Linked DNA regions of Homo sapiens: regions 2, 3, 4 and 5 are each linked to region 1. Evidence: promoter capture Hi-C in 16 types of primary human blood cells and fetal thymus (Javierre and others, 2016). All regions are on one chromosome and are shown on one strand. The core of a region is centred on a gene start or on the middle of the fragment in contact, and the rest is flanking DNA. Distances in the headings are between cores, read along the strand shown. Region 1 holds the start of AIPL1 (AIP like 1 HSP90 co-chaperone). Region 2 has its middle 50 kb from the start of NLRP1. Region 3 has its middle 66 kb from the start of NLRP1. Region 4 has its middle 90 kb from the start of NLRP1. Region 5 has its middle 150 kb from the start of NLRP1.

Region 1 (2,528 bases), core at 1-2,500:
GCCCAGAAAAGACTAGTCCCAGGAGACAGGCGCGCAGGGCCTACTTACGATGGTGTCGCACCAGAACTCGGCCACCTCGTGCACCCGCATGGAGGTAAGCAGGATCTCCCAGACCTCGAGCTTGAACATGTTTCCGATGATGATGTGCATGGGCTGGCCCACCTGCCGACTGTCGTCAATGACTGTCCGCTCCTCATCACATTTCATGGTGCGGAAATGAAAGATCACCTAGTCACCGAGACGGTGCACTCTGCTCTAGACACACTGTTCAAGGCCCGGCAGAAGCCACCCCCTTGCCACCGACACCCAGGGCTGTCCCCAGGGTCAGCTCACTCAGTTCACCCCATCAGATGCCTCAGACCCCTGGAGCACCTCCACCCTGCCTGCACCCCCCAGGGAGGAGGGACCCACCCCTCCCTACAGACCCCATTCCACTCCCCACAGCCCTGTGCGTCCAGAAATCCTTCCTCAAGTAAGCCCGAGTTCTTTTTTTTTTTTTTTTTTCTGAGACAGAGTCTCACTCTGTTGCCCAGGTTGGAGTGCAGTGGTATGATCTCGGCTCACTGCAACCTCCACCTCCTGGGCTCAAGTGATTCTCCTGCCTCAGTCTCCTGAGTATCTGAACTGGGATTACAGGCGCCCAGCACATCTGGCTAATTTTTGTATTTTCAGTAGAGATGGGGTTTCACATGTTGGTCAGGCTGGTCTCGAACTCTTGACCTCATGATCTGCCCATCTTGGCCTCCCAAAGTGCTGGGATTACAGGCGGGAGCCGCCTCGCCTGGCCAAAGCCCGAATTCTGTAGCCACAGACGCACCCTTCAGTCCAGGGAAGCCTAACAGACATTTGGGGACAAATACCAAGACTCCTCGGACTCCCTTTCTTCTCACTCAACATTTAGGGCCCCAGAAAATTCCCAAAAGCCCTTCCCCTCAGCCCATGCTAAAGTTGAATCTGCAAAGTACCAAAAATGCCCCCTGAATGGGTAAACGCTGGGAGCTCCCCGGAGGCCCAGCGCTGGGGCTGCCTGGCTGTTTTTTTGGCACAGCTGAAAGCTGTTTACAGTGCCTTGGGGCACACCTGGAATGTTGAAAGCTGCTGTGGGGGACCCTGTCTGCTCCGGAGGGGCCCCACTCACTCGGGATCCGGTGATGAAGTTTGGGAGCTCGCCCGTGCCCCCGTGCAGAATGGTTTTCTTGACCCCTTCCACGTTCAGGAGCAGAGCGGCATCCATGGCTGCAGGAGAAAGGGAGGTGTCCAGCACAGGCGGAGATAATCTCACCTCCGGGGAAGACACTTAGGCGGCTGAGACTCTGGGATTTACCCAGCCAGGAGGAGTGGGGGGAAGGGCAGACGGTGGGGGCGGTGACCTAGGCGCCCCGGCTTCTCATCAGAGCCACTCGGGCCGGGCCTGTGGTCCACAGGCAGCCTCGCCTCCTATCCCATCCACCTTTGCTTCCAGTGATTCTGGGCCCCTGCCCAGGGTTGTGCTAGATTTGGCTTTTTGTTCCACCCCAAGAAGGAAAAAGGTCCGCTGAGCTTTCTTAAAGAAGACAGGGGACCAGGCGCGGTGACTCACGCCTGTAATCCCAGCACTTTGGGAGGCCGAGGCGGGCAGATCACAAGGTCAAGAGATCGAGACCATCCTGGCTAATATGGTGAAACCCCATCTCTACTAAAAATACAAAAATTAGCCGGGGGTGGTGGCGGGCGCCTGTAGTTCCAGCTACTCGGGAGGCTGAAGCAGGAGAATCGCTTGAACCCGGGAGGCGGAGGTTGCAGTGAGCCAAGATAGCGCCACTGCACTCCAGCCTGGCGATGTGGAGAGAGGCCTGGAGGCCACTGAAGGGGAAAAGGAGGGGAGGCATGGGCTGGGCCCAGACTCTAAGTCCCCGAGGACCCCAGGCCAGCCGGGGTGACAGCTGCCCTTTGCCATCCAGCCACCTTTCTGCTTTCCCTGTTCCCCCTCCCCTCCCCAGAATCTGCCTTCAGGAGGCCCTGCGATGGTGGCCCAAGGCAAGAGGGGACAGGTTTCTGGCTTGGGAGAGAAGGAAGACGGAGAACGAAAGGCGGGGTGGGTTTGGGTAAAGTTGAGGCGCCCTCCGCAGCCCCGCTCCTGCCTCCCCTGCAAGGTCTGGCTGGGGGAAGGGTGGGTATCCCCTCCCCTCCCCTCCCCTCCCCTCCCCTTTGGAGGCCCTTAGCCCTGTGCCCTGGGAACCAGGCAGAGTTTATTGAGGGCATCAGGGACGCCCAGAAGGGCTGGGAAACATAAATGCGAAGACCTGGTGTTTGGCACCACCGTGTGGCCAGTTCAAGCTCCTACACCTCCGCACCCTGAGGGCACTGGACTCAGCTCCACGAAACCATTCTCTTCCTGACACCAGGCTCACCGGTTGCAGAGGGAAGGGGTGCAGGACTCTGCTACAGGGAGAGATAAAAACACGGGACTAAGGAGGCTGAAGTAGGTGGATCACCTGAGGTCAGGAGTTTTGTATTTTTAGTAGTCTGTACTAAAAATACAAAAATTA
Region 2 (2,528 bases), core at 14-2,513, 800 kb before region 1:
CTCACCCAAAGCCGGGGGCAAACATATCTGCTCCAGCTTCCTCATAGAGTTGTTCTGAGGATCAAACAGCAAATGGGATGACAGAATCTGGAAACTAGGTGTAGTGCACATTCCAACAGCTCATGTTTTTTGAGTGCTTTTTAAGGCCAGGCTCTGTGCGAGGTATTCTGTGTGCATCATCTCATGGAATCCTTAATCCTCATAAGGTAGATAACACTATTATTGTCTCACTTAAGGGACAGGAAAATTTAGGCCTCAGAGGAGTGATGTGTCTTTATCTACTCTGTGTGTGTGCATGTGTGTGTGCGTGTGTGTGTGTGTGTGTGTGTGTGAGAGAGAGAGAGAGAGAGAGAGAGAGAGTGCTTGGAAATTAACTCTGGTCTCTTTGACTCCGAAGTTCTTCTCTCTTCCTTTGTGCTCCACCCCCATCTCTGTCTTGCAGGACAAGCTGTGGCTGATGTCCCTGCAGCCCAGTGGTCCTGACGGACTGATGGAGACACAGGCAGATTGGTCCTGACGGACTGACGGAGACACAGGCAGATGGCAGGGCTCGAGTTGTCAGACACATCCTGAGTTGTCCAAGAGGCTCACCTTGAACACACCTGCAGACACTTGGGGAAACAGGATATTTTTGAGATTTTTATCTTAGAGAAGGGACTTTCTGCTTTCTGCTCTTTAAGATTAATGACCTCCAGAATCTGTGACTTTTGGGCAGCAGAGGTTCAGGAGACCAAGTGTCTGCTGCTTTATTCATCCAGTGAGAGCAGAACTGGGCTTCTCAGGGTCCAAGAGGCCCATCTCATTGGCAACAAGAGCCCAGCCTGAGGATTTTACAAATAGTTGGAGCTCTCTCTCTCTGCCTTCTTGTATCTGCAGCCTCAACTTTTAGCTCCAAGCCACGTTCATCAATTGATGGCCCTTGTTTCTGTTTTGACGAAACGAAATTTGCTTTTAAAATCCTGGGTTCAGAACTCTAAGCACAGCCCTTCTGGGAGGCATAAATAAGTTGGATTTAAGAGAGACTAATCAGGGAACAATTCTGAAGTGAACCGAGTTTCTACAACTAGACTCTCCAGCTTCATTAAGAGTGAATTTGGTCACCTTTTGTATTTTTGAATAAAAATAGGCTAAGCCCCTCACTTGCCATATTTTAAAAAATCTCAGGAAATTTCTTGGGGCTTTTAGATTATTTTAAAAAACCCCTTAGTGTGCACTCAGTCCTAAGTGGTCAGTCCGGTTTCCATATGCTCATGCTGGTAAAACTGGGAAATATGTCTAGTCCACCAGTAGGCAGGCTGGCTTCAGCTGCCATCAATGCTGCTGCCGCCACATGGGATGGTTGTTGAAAACTGATCCAGCACAACGTGGTCCCCTCTTATCCCTGGCTGTGAGGATGTGCTTGCTGGCTCACATCCTTGCACTGACCATGTTGCTATTTTTTAAAATTTATTATTTATTTATTTTTTGAGATGGAGTCTCGCTCTGTTGTCCAGGCTGGAGTGCAGTGGTGCGATCTTGGCTCACTGCAACCTCTTCCTCCCAGATTCAAGTGATTCTCCTGCCTCAGACTCCTGAATAGCTGGGATCACAGGCGCCCACGACCATGCCTGGCTAATTTTTGTATTTTTAGTAGAGACGGGGTTTCACCGTGTTGGCCAGGCTGGTCTTGAACTCCTGACCTCAGGTGATCCACCTGCCTCGGCCTCCCAAAGTGCTGGGATTACAAGCATGAGCCACTGCTCCAGACCCAAGCTGCCACTGGAGGACAGGGATTCTATTTCCTCAGTGTTACACTTGGCACAGGGTGCTGCACACTGGGATTCCTAAACCAATAGCTTCCTTGTTCATGAGTATATTCCCAGCCACGCCCTGTCATGTGATGGAGCAGCCACGGGGGTTCTGCCGGCCTCAGCATGCATGGCCTCAAGACCAACTCTCTTTGAGATTAGCTTGGGTCCCTTCTCCAGATTTCCCCTCCCTTTAGGGTGAGTCTCAGCCTCCCAGAGGGATCTTTTCCTGCTGATAGTTCTCAATCGGGATCCTCACAGTGCCCCAGCAATTCCAATAGGTTTGAACTTAACAATGGCAGAGGGCAACATTGGCATATTTGCTGAGAAGCTGCCAGAGGACTCAATCTCCTCCTTCTGGTACCACTTCTGCGTTCCAAGGAGTATCAGCAGGAGCAGCCAATAGGTTGGCTAGGAAAATGTCCAGTTGCAGCCCTCCCTTGCGAGGCACTAGGGGGCTATTTGTCATTTTACGTAAGGACCAGATGAGGTTTTCTAGAACAATTCATCTATGGAATAAACTAGCTGCAACATTTAAATGGCAGCTTATAAATTCCCTATAAAGGTTTAAATTCTGCCTAACCAGGTATCTCTTTGTATTTATAAGACCCAAAGAAGAGGCTTTGGAACTTCATCTTCTTGCTCTGACAAGTTCAGAACTGGGGACCCAAGTCTTTGTTTCTTTATTTTTTCTTTTTTCTTTTCTTTTTTTTTTTTTTTGAGATGGAGTTTGCTCTTGTT
Region 3 (2,528 bases), core at 12-2,511, 780 kb before region 1:
CAACACATATTTGAGCCAGAGTTTTTTTTTTTTTTGTTTAATAGCTCTTTCCTATTTTTCTTTATTTCTTTAGGCTGTGTTCTTAGTGATTAAATTAGCACCATCATCCAATGTACTTATTCTCTCTTTGACTTTATTCTCTAGCATTGATTCCTTCTTTTATTCTCTAGCATTGATTCCTTCTATTGAAAAGTATTGTAAATGAAATGCCTATTTTGTGTTCAGCATTTTACATCTGTTTCTTTTTTTAAATGTCCACCCTACCTTGTTATATTTTTGCTTGCTTTTGTTTCACAATTTCTCATTGTTATTAGTCATGCTATTTCTTCCTTTATCCATTGTGGATCTTAAATAATAAAAAATATTTTCTGATTGCTTTATTATTTTACTTTCCCGGGCTGCATCAACCTTCTGAGTATGGTTTTGTCAGCTGTTTTTCTTAGCATTAGATTTCCTCATATGCTTCAGAACTTAGCTTTGTAGGATAATTATGTATGATTACTATGGGAATCCACTCAACTCCCTCAACCCCCAATTCAACTTTTGTGGTCATCTCCAACCCAGTCATGAGGCTTCTGTCCAAGGACTGGTCTCATGTTGGTGGTTGGGGCTCTGGTTCTTTAAGGAGACAGAGGAAGATGCAGATCCAAGAACTTGGCTGGTTTGCCTATAGGTCCTGGCTGGAAGGCTGCACATCCCCACTCCTACCTTCGTCATCACTGAGCTACATATAAACCACAACCCTGGGCCAGATACATTGCAGTTGGTTTCAAACTCCTTCCCTGACCAGGGAAATCCTATCCCAGGCCCAGTAAGTCTGGATCAATATCCCTACATTTTTAGTTCCTTGTACCCCACAGGATAGAGCTCCAGCCACCCCACAAGATAGAGCTCCAGCCACCTCTTCCTGCATCTTGGCCCCAGTCCAGCAGACCTGCAATTCAGTCAGCTTTTTTCTTTGTTCTTTTCTACCATTTCTAGTCCAGAAAAATACTTATCTTACTTTTGAAGGTGGCTATGTCTTCTTAGCTTTTGTTGTTAATATTTTATCTATGAGTGCTACGTGTTGGGATCAGAGGGAGAGCTTGAAGTATGAACTTACAGTATCATCTTGGCTGGGAGGCTCCATTAGTGTTCAAACCATTTGTAGTTAAAAATAATATTGTTGTGGCCAGGTGTGGTGGCTTACATCTGTAATCCCAGCACTTTGGGTGGCCGAGGCAGGTGGATCACCTGAGGTCAGGAGTTTGAGACCAGCCTGGCTAACATGGCAAAACCTCGTCTCTACTAAAAATACAAAAATTAGCTGGGACTGGTCGCACGTGCTTGTTGTCCCAGCTACTTGGGAGGCTGAGGCAGGAGAATCGCTTGAACCTGGGAGGCGGAGGTTGCAGCGAGCTGAGATTGCACCACTGCACCCCAGCCTGGGTGACAGAACGAGACTCTGTCTCAAAAAAAAAAAATTGTTACTTACAACCTAAAACATCATAACTGACAGAAGTACTTATCTCATAAGATTGTTCTGAGGACAAAGTGGGATTTTCCAATGTGAACACTCTGAATGGTGTCTGACATTGAGAAAGGCTCAATAAAAGGCAGCTATTACTTTAATTGCTTTTGTTGTCTACTGTTTCCACATGTGTTTCTGAAACTGTCCCTATAAACTTTGTAAAGTTCATCAGGGAAGAAGAGAGAGAAAGAAATGAAAATAAACACAGCTTGCAGCACATTTGGCATTAACATGAGATCAGCTGCTCTCTGACCCATTTCCTCATAGTTGTTTGGTGCCTATTGTCTTAGAATCACACTGACCCTAGATTACAGTTTCCCTTAACTGCTCCATAGGTAACAACTTGAACATTACAGAATATTAAGTTTTCCCATTGAGACAGTCTTTCAGACCCTGCATACCAGTGAAACTATCAATGTCAGCTGGCCTGAAGGACCCCACGAGGAGCTGACTCCCCAGAGAATGCAGTTTCCACATCCTGAAGATTTCATCGCCCTTACCCTAACCAATCAATGACCCCAATTCCCAGCCCCTTGCCCTCCATGATCCCCTTAAAAGCCCCAGCCCAGAACTCTTTGGGGAGATGGATTGAGGGTCTCTTCCCATCTCCTTGCTTGGCTGCCCTGTGATCATTAAACTCTTTCTCTGCTGCAAACCGTGCTGTCTCAGCATATTGGTCTGTTCCTGCACAACCAAAAGCTGTAACACTTCTGCTTTCTCTGGGTTCAGCCCAGCAGAACCATAATGTGGAAATTTCAACTGGGCTGCCTCTGTCTTTGGGCATATGCCTCCTCCTCCGTCAAACACACTGGTTTCACTCTCTGTCTTTTCTTCTTAACATGCATTTCCATGTTTGCTTCTTCAGAATGATTCCAACCCCCCAACTTCTAAATGATAGTCTGGAAAGACCACTTAACAAAAAGACCTAAGCTATTGATTTAAGCCCCACCCATGCTGTTAGCTGCAGGACCTTGGGAAAATCTCTAAGCTCTCAGCCCCATTTTCTCCATCAGCCAAA
Region 4 (2,528 bases), core at 18-2,517, 760 kb before region 1:
GATGGGGGCAGGAATGAAGCTTGGCCTCCACCCCCTGAGGCAGTGAGGTCGAGTGGTGCTAGCATCCCTGTTGCTGGCTCTTCCCAGGCCTGCTCCTTATCCTGAGAGTGACCCATTGATGGGATGCATTGTGCCCCTCCTCTACCAGGGGAGAAATGGGGAGTCAGGGTCATCCTGGGTGACTCAGAGACACTTTCAGTTAAGTACTGGCCCCTTGATGTGAAAATAGGAACAGGGAGTCAGCAGATGCTGCTCTGATGTGATAAGAGCAGGCCATTATTTCACAAAGTGTAGGATCAGTCACATGACCAGGAAGAAGTCACACTTCTCTTGTAAACTAAAATATGATGTCTCCAGGGAAACTCGATTCTTTGGTTGAAAGGTGAGTTTGTCCTTAAGTCATCAGGAGAAAACACTGGTTATGGCTGTGGTTGGTGGGGAGAGCCTGACGTGGAATTGAAGCCTGGTCCACCCCGGCCCACAGGTCCCAGTCATTCTGGGACAGAGCAGGGGAAGTCCCATGATATCAGGCTGAAGATGGAGCGGGCAGAGTGCAGGGCAAGAGGCGAGATTCCAGTACTGTTTAGAAAGGTGAAAAGTCTCCAGGGAAGGGTGGGGGTACCCAGGTGGGGGCCAGGGGGCTGCAGGTGGAAGAGGCAGTGGGGCTGTGAGCTGGAGAGTGGGAAGGAAGAGGGGTCCCTAGTGAGACCTAGTTCCTGTTTCTCCACCCTGTGACGTGAGGATGAGATGCCAGAGCAGTGGTCCTCACACATCAGCACACATCAGAATCACTGGGAGGGTTTGCAAAAACATGGACCGCTGGGCCCCACCCCAGAGCTTCTAATTCCGTAGGTCCGGGATTGGAACTGATAACTGGCATTTCTAAGAGGCTCCTGGTATCACTGATCCTGCCAGTTAGAGGACCACACTTTGAGAGCCACTGGTCTAGATGTGGCCGGCTTCTATTGTACAATTTTTTGGTGCTTACTCGAATTCCTCACCAGGGAGCTGCCTACACCTCCCTCAGGTTCAGTGTGTGTTTGGTCTGAGAAGATGAAGAGTGCTGGCGGGGGACGGGGTGGAGCGGACTCCCCCAGATAATGGGGCTGGGCACTGATTTTTCCTTCCCCGGGGATAAGAGACTAGAGGCCACTCTCCAGCCTGAGGCCATCCGGCCAATTCCTCTGATTTACCCACTCCCCCAAGTGACAAAGGACACCCCTTTCTAGGATGGAAAGAAGGGCCCCTGCTATGATAGTTACTCAAGAGTGCCTTGTGTTGGGGCGTTGAGGTTTGCAGAAGTGGAAGTGGATTGGAAAGGAGAGCAGCCCCATGACAGAACCTTCTTGTTCCTTGCATTGACATCAAAGCTCAAGCTCACGTCCCACCTCACCTTCCTCTGCTGTGTGATCCTGGGGGAACTTAACTTAGTGAGCCCTGATTTTCTCATCTGTAAAATGGGAACAATGAAAATGTCTGTCCTACTGCTCACTGGGATTGTTTTGGGAGGATGAGGCAGTGGATGTGAAATTGATATGTGAGCTATAAATTGTGTACCTGTGTGAATTCTAACACTGTTTTAAGTTTGCAAGGGAATCAAAGGAGAAAGGAGAAATGGAACAGTCATGAAGAGAGCAACTACTTTCCATTGGGACCCAGGCATTCATTTCCTCTTTTTTTCTCCTTATGTTCAGAAAACTCAGATTAAAAATAACATGAGACATGCACACGTATGTTTATAGCGGCACTATTCACAATAGCAAAGACTTGGAACCAACCTAAATGTCCAACAACGATAGACTGGATTAAGCAAATATGGCACATATACACCATGGAATACTATGCAGCCATAAAAAATGATGAGTTCATGTCCTTTGTAGGGACATGGATGAAACTGGAAACCATCATTCTCAGCAAACTGTCGCAAGGACAAAAAACCAAACACCGCATGTTCTCACTCATAGGTGGGAATTGAACAATGAGAACACATGGACACAGGAAGGGGAACATCACACACCGGGGCCTGTTGTGGGGTGGGGGAAGGGGGGAGGGATAGCATTAGGAGATATACCTAATGCTAAATGACGAGTTAATGGGTGCAGCACACCAACATGGCACATGTATACACATGTAACAAACCTGCATGTTGTGCACGTGTACCCTAAAACTTAAAGTATAATAATAATAAAATTAAAAAAAAATTACATGAGACAAAAGTCCACACTTCAGCTGTCATATCAACTTTAGCCAGGACACCCACTAACATGAAAGATGGGGGTTAGTTGATTATTTGGGTTTGGGAAATGGTCAATCGTATTTTGGAAATGTTGACATTTGCTGGCTTGGGACCATCACAATGTTGCCCACGTTCCTTCTTCTGAGGCCGAAAGTTAATCAGGAGGATCTAGTGAATGTTGATGTCCCACAGAGTTGGTCCTTGTCAGTATCGCCCCAATATAAAGACAATTAATAAGCATAATCCAACTATGTCTTATTGCACACATGCTGTAGAATGCAAGCTTTATGGG
Region 5 (2,528 bases), core at 15-2,514, 700 kb before region 1:
TGTAACAGAATCCAGAAGGTACAACTTAGAATTCAGAACTTGAGTTTGAACTGCAGAATTTGGAATTTGGAATACAGAATTGGAAGATAGAACAGAGGTGACAGGCTGGGCGCGGTGGCTCATGCCTGTAATCTCAGCACTTTGGGAGGCTGAGGTGGGCAGATCATGAGGTCAGAAGTTCAAGACAAGCCTGGCCAACATAGTGAAACACTGGCTTTACTAAAAATACAAAAATTAGCCTGGCATGGTGGCATGTGCCTGTAATCCCAGCTACTCAGGAGGCTGAGCCAGGAGAATTGCTTGAACCCGGGAGGCGGAGGCTGTGGTGAGCCGAGATCTTGCAGTGAGCCGAGATCATGGCACTGGACTCCAGCTTGGGTGACAGAGCGAGACTTGGTCTCAAAAAAAAAAAAAAAAAAAAAAAAAGAAACAGTTGGAATAGAAGAAGTCTGGGGCATATCATTTAGATGCTAAAAAAAAAAAAAAAACAACATTTCCAGGACATTTTAAAGGTATTTGGAATCAGGGCTGTTGCTCCCGGTGGAGTAGGTTCCCAGGGAGACTGGGACACAGAAAAGAAGGGACTTGGAGTCCCGTCTGCTGGGCACTCAGCTCAAAGCTCACACCCCTGACGGACTCTGCTTGACGTTTACATGTTACCCTTCTCAAACGGGGCTTCTGTGCCTCCTGGAAATTTAGGTAAGCTTGGTTCAACCCTCCCAAGTTACAGCCTGCGAAAGCTGAGGGTCTTCCTCATGATCCTGGACAATTCCTGATGGCCTAATTCTTCAGTCTGTTCTTTTCGGCATTAGAGGGTGCAGCCTCCTGCCATCTTGGATAAAAAACCCAGTCTGCAGTGGTTTCACTAAGGGTGCTCCCAACAGATGATTCATGGGTGTGGGGGACTTGCTCAAGATTTGAGGGGTCTCGCCAGGCTCCCCAGAATCTTCATCCATTTCACTGTTCCTCTTCCCCTTCCTCTCTCTTTTCCTCTCTTTTTCAGGGTCACCAGCCCTCTTCCCACCATCTAAAGCTCATATGAGCTTACTGTGTGGACCCACTCAGAAGCCCAGAGTTGGAATAAAGATTATTTTAAACTGAAGACATTTGAGGTTCAACAGACGCAGAGAAAAGCCTCCTCAGAGCTTCCCTTATCTGACTAAAAGCAGCAACTTCTGGTAAATGAAGCTACCATAGATCCCTTCTCCGGGGGAGTTTCATGGCCCTGAGGAAGATGGAAAGACCACCTTTATTTGTATGGAAAGACATCACCACACTCTTCAAAAAATGTCCTGTTATCCTGAAAAAAATGTATTTCCTAAAGAAGCCCATCTGTATTTCCCATAGGAGCCTTTTCTCCCTCCTCCCTTTCCCCTACTAGGTTAGGTATTTAAGCCCCAAATTCTAATCACGACTTTGAGTTACTCATCACTGAACACTCAGGCTTGCGTAAGTAAACTCTTCTCTTCTCTTGCGAATGTGTCTTTTGTCAGTTTAATTTACAGAGCTCCAATCACCAAACCTAAAAAGATAGAGAAAAAGTTTACCTCTCCTATATTATTTATCTTCTGCCTCCTCCTCTAAAGTCTCAGCTTCTAACCCAGGTAAGATTATCTAGGAATCGTCCCCAGAAAGGCGTGTTTCCTAAGCCTACCGGTAATTATGAGAGAAGAAAAATTTTCCTTCTAGCTGCACAGGTATTACATGGATGGGGTCAGGATAAACCCACATTACTCAAAGAAATATTTGCATTTTTAGGCCAACCACTATCCACAGAATCTCTGGGCTTAACTATTCCTTAGGGAGAGCACAAGAAGGAAATTGCAAAGCTTTTGTCAAAATATTTGGCCACCAAAAAATTCCTGCTTGCTTCACAGAGACAGATGCGTGAATGCCACAGCACTATCTGTTCTGTGTTTTATGATCCTCCCCAAAATAACAGTCTCTGTTGGATTTGCGCTGGTGATTTGAGAATAAGAAACTTTAAAAACAACTAGACAACCAGTTCAAGAGAGCAGATAATGTATATTCAGCAGCCTCCCCCTCCTGCCCTAACTTCTGAGAGTGACAGAAATAATTATTGTAACAAGTTCTCATTACCATGCTGGGAAGGAAGGAGAGAGGCAGTTGATGGACAGTAATTATAAGAAGCTCCTTAGATGAAGCAAGGAAACTGCAGTCAAAAATCATCTGTAGGAGAGGAAGGATGCAAAAGATGGGCAAGGGGGCAAGGGCATGGCAGGCCTGGAGATTGTGATGCCAGGATGAGATGGGACCCTGATGCTCCTGATCGAGCCACAGATGGGAGATGCCGCCCCTTTATCAGGTAGCAAACAACGAAATGTCTTGTTTTAAGAAGTAGCAAGTTCGGGCACGGTGGCTCACGCCTGTAATCCTAGCACTTTGGGAGGCCGAGGTGGGCAGATCACGAGGTCAGGAGATCGAGACCATCCTGGCTAACACGGCGAAACCCTGTCTTTAGTAGAAATCCAAAAAAGTTAGCCAGGCATGGTGGCAGGTGCCTGCAG

Evidence for each region. The method cuts DNA at HindIII sites, captures the fragments that hold promoters and counts their contacts. A CHiCAGO score of 5 or more calls a contact.
Region 2: a fragment that was not itself captured here is called in contact with the fragment with the promoter of AIPL1 in region 1 in 1 of 17 cell types (total CD8 T cells); the score reaches 6.3 in total CD8 T cells.
Region 3: a contact is called between a fragment that was not itself captured here and the fragment with the promoter of AIPL1 in region 1, in 1 of 17 cell types (total CD8 T cells). The highest score is 5.0, in total CD8 T cells.
Region 4: a contact is called between a fragment that was not itself captured here and the fragment with the promoter of AIPL1 in region 1, in 1 of 17 cell types (M1 macrophages). The highest score is 6.8, in M1 macrophages.
Region 5: a fragment that was not itself captured here is called in contact with the fragment with the promoter of AIPL1 in region 1 in 2 of 17 cell types (M0 macrophages and M1 macrophages); the score reaches 5.9 in M0 macrophages.

Annotation. Positions count from the first base shown.
Region 1 is chr17:6,433,871-6,436,398 of GRCh38, forward strand. It overlaps AIPL1 (AIP like 1 HSP90 co-chaperone), which reads right to left and starts at 1,251. Exons shown (of 6, transcript NM_014336.5): 1 at 1,139-1,251; 2 at 49-228. The coding sequence starts at 1,234. The HindIII fragment of the contact is 8,305 bases long and covers 1-2,528 here.
Region 2 is chr17:5,632,855-5,635,382 of GRCh38, forward strand. No RefSeq gene overlaps it. Among named protein-coding and RNA genes, the nearest start is that of NLRP1, 50 kb to the left of the region's middle. The HindIII fragment of the contact is 2,999 bases long and covers 1-2,528 here.
Region 3 is chr17:5,649,382-5,651,909 of GRCh38, forward strand. No RefSeq gene overlaps it. Among named protein-coding and RNA genes, the nearest start is that of NLRP1, 66 kb to the left of the region's middle. The HindIII fragment of the contact is 8,928 bases long and covers 1-2,528 here.
Region 4 is chr17:5,672,748-5,675,275 of GRCh38, forward strand. No RefSeq gene overlaps it. Among named protein-coding and RNA genes, the nearest start is that of NLRP1, 90 kb to the left of the region's middle. The HindIII fragment of the contact is 2,500 bases long and covers 18-2,517 here.
Region 5 is chr17:5,731,706-5,734,233 of GRCh38, forward strand. It overlaps the pseudogene LOC100128284. Among named protein-coding and RNA genes, the nearest start is that of NLRP1, 150 kb to the left of the region's middle. RefSeq lists an enhancer at 805-2,004. The HindIII fragment of the contact is 1,125 bases long and covers 703-1,827 here.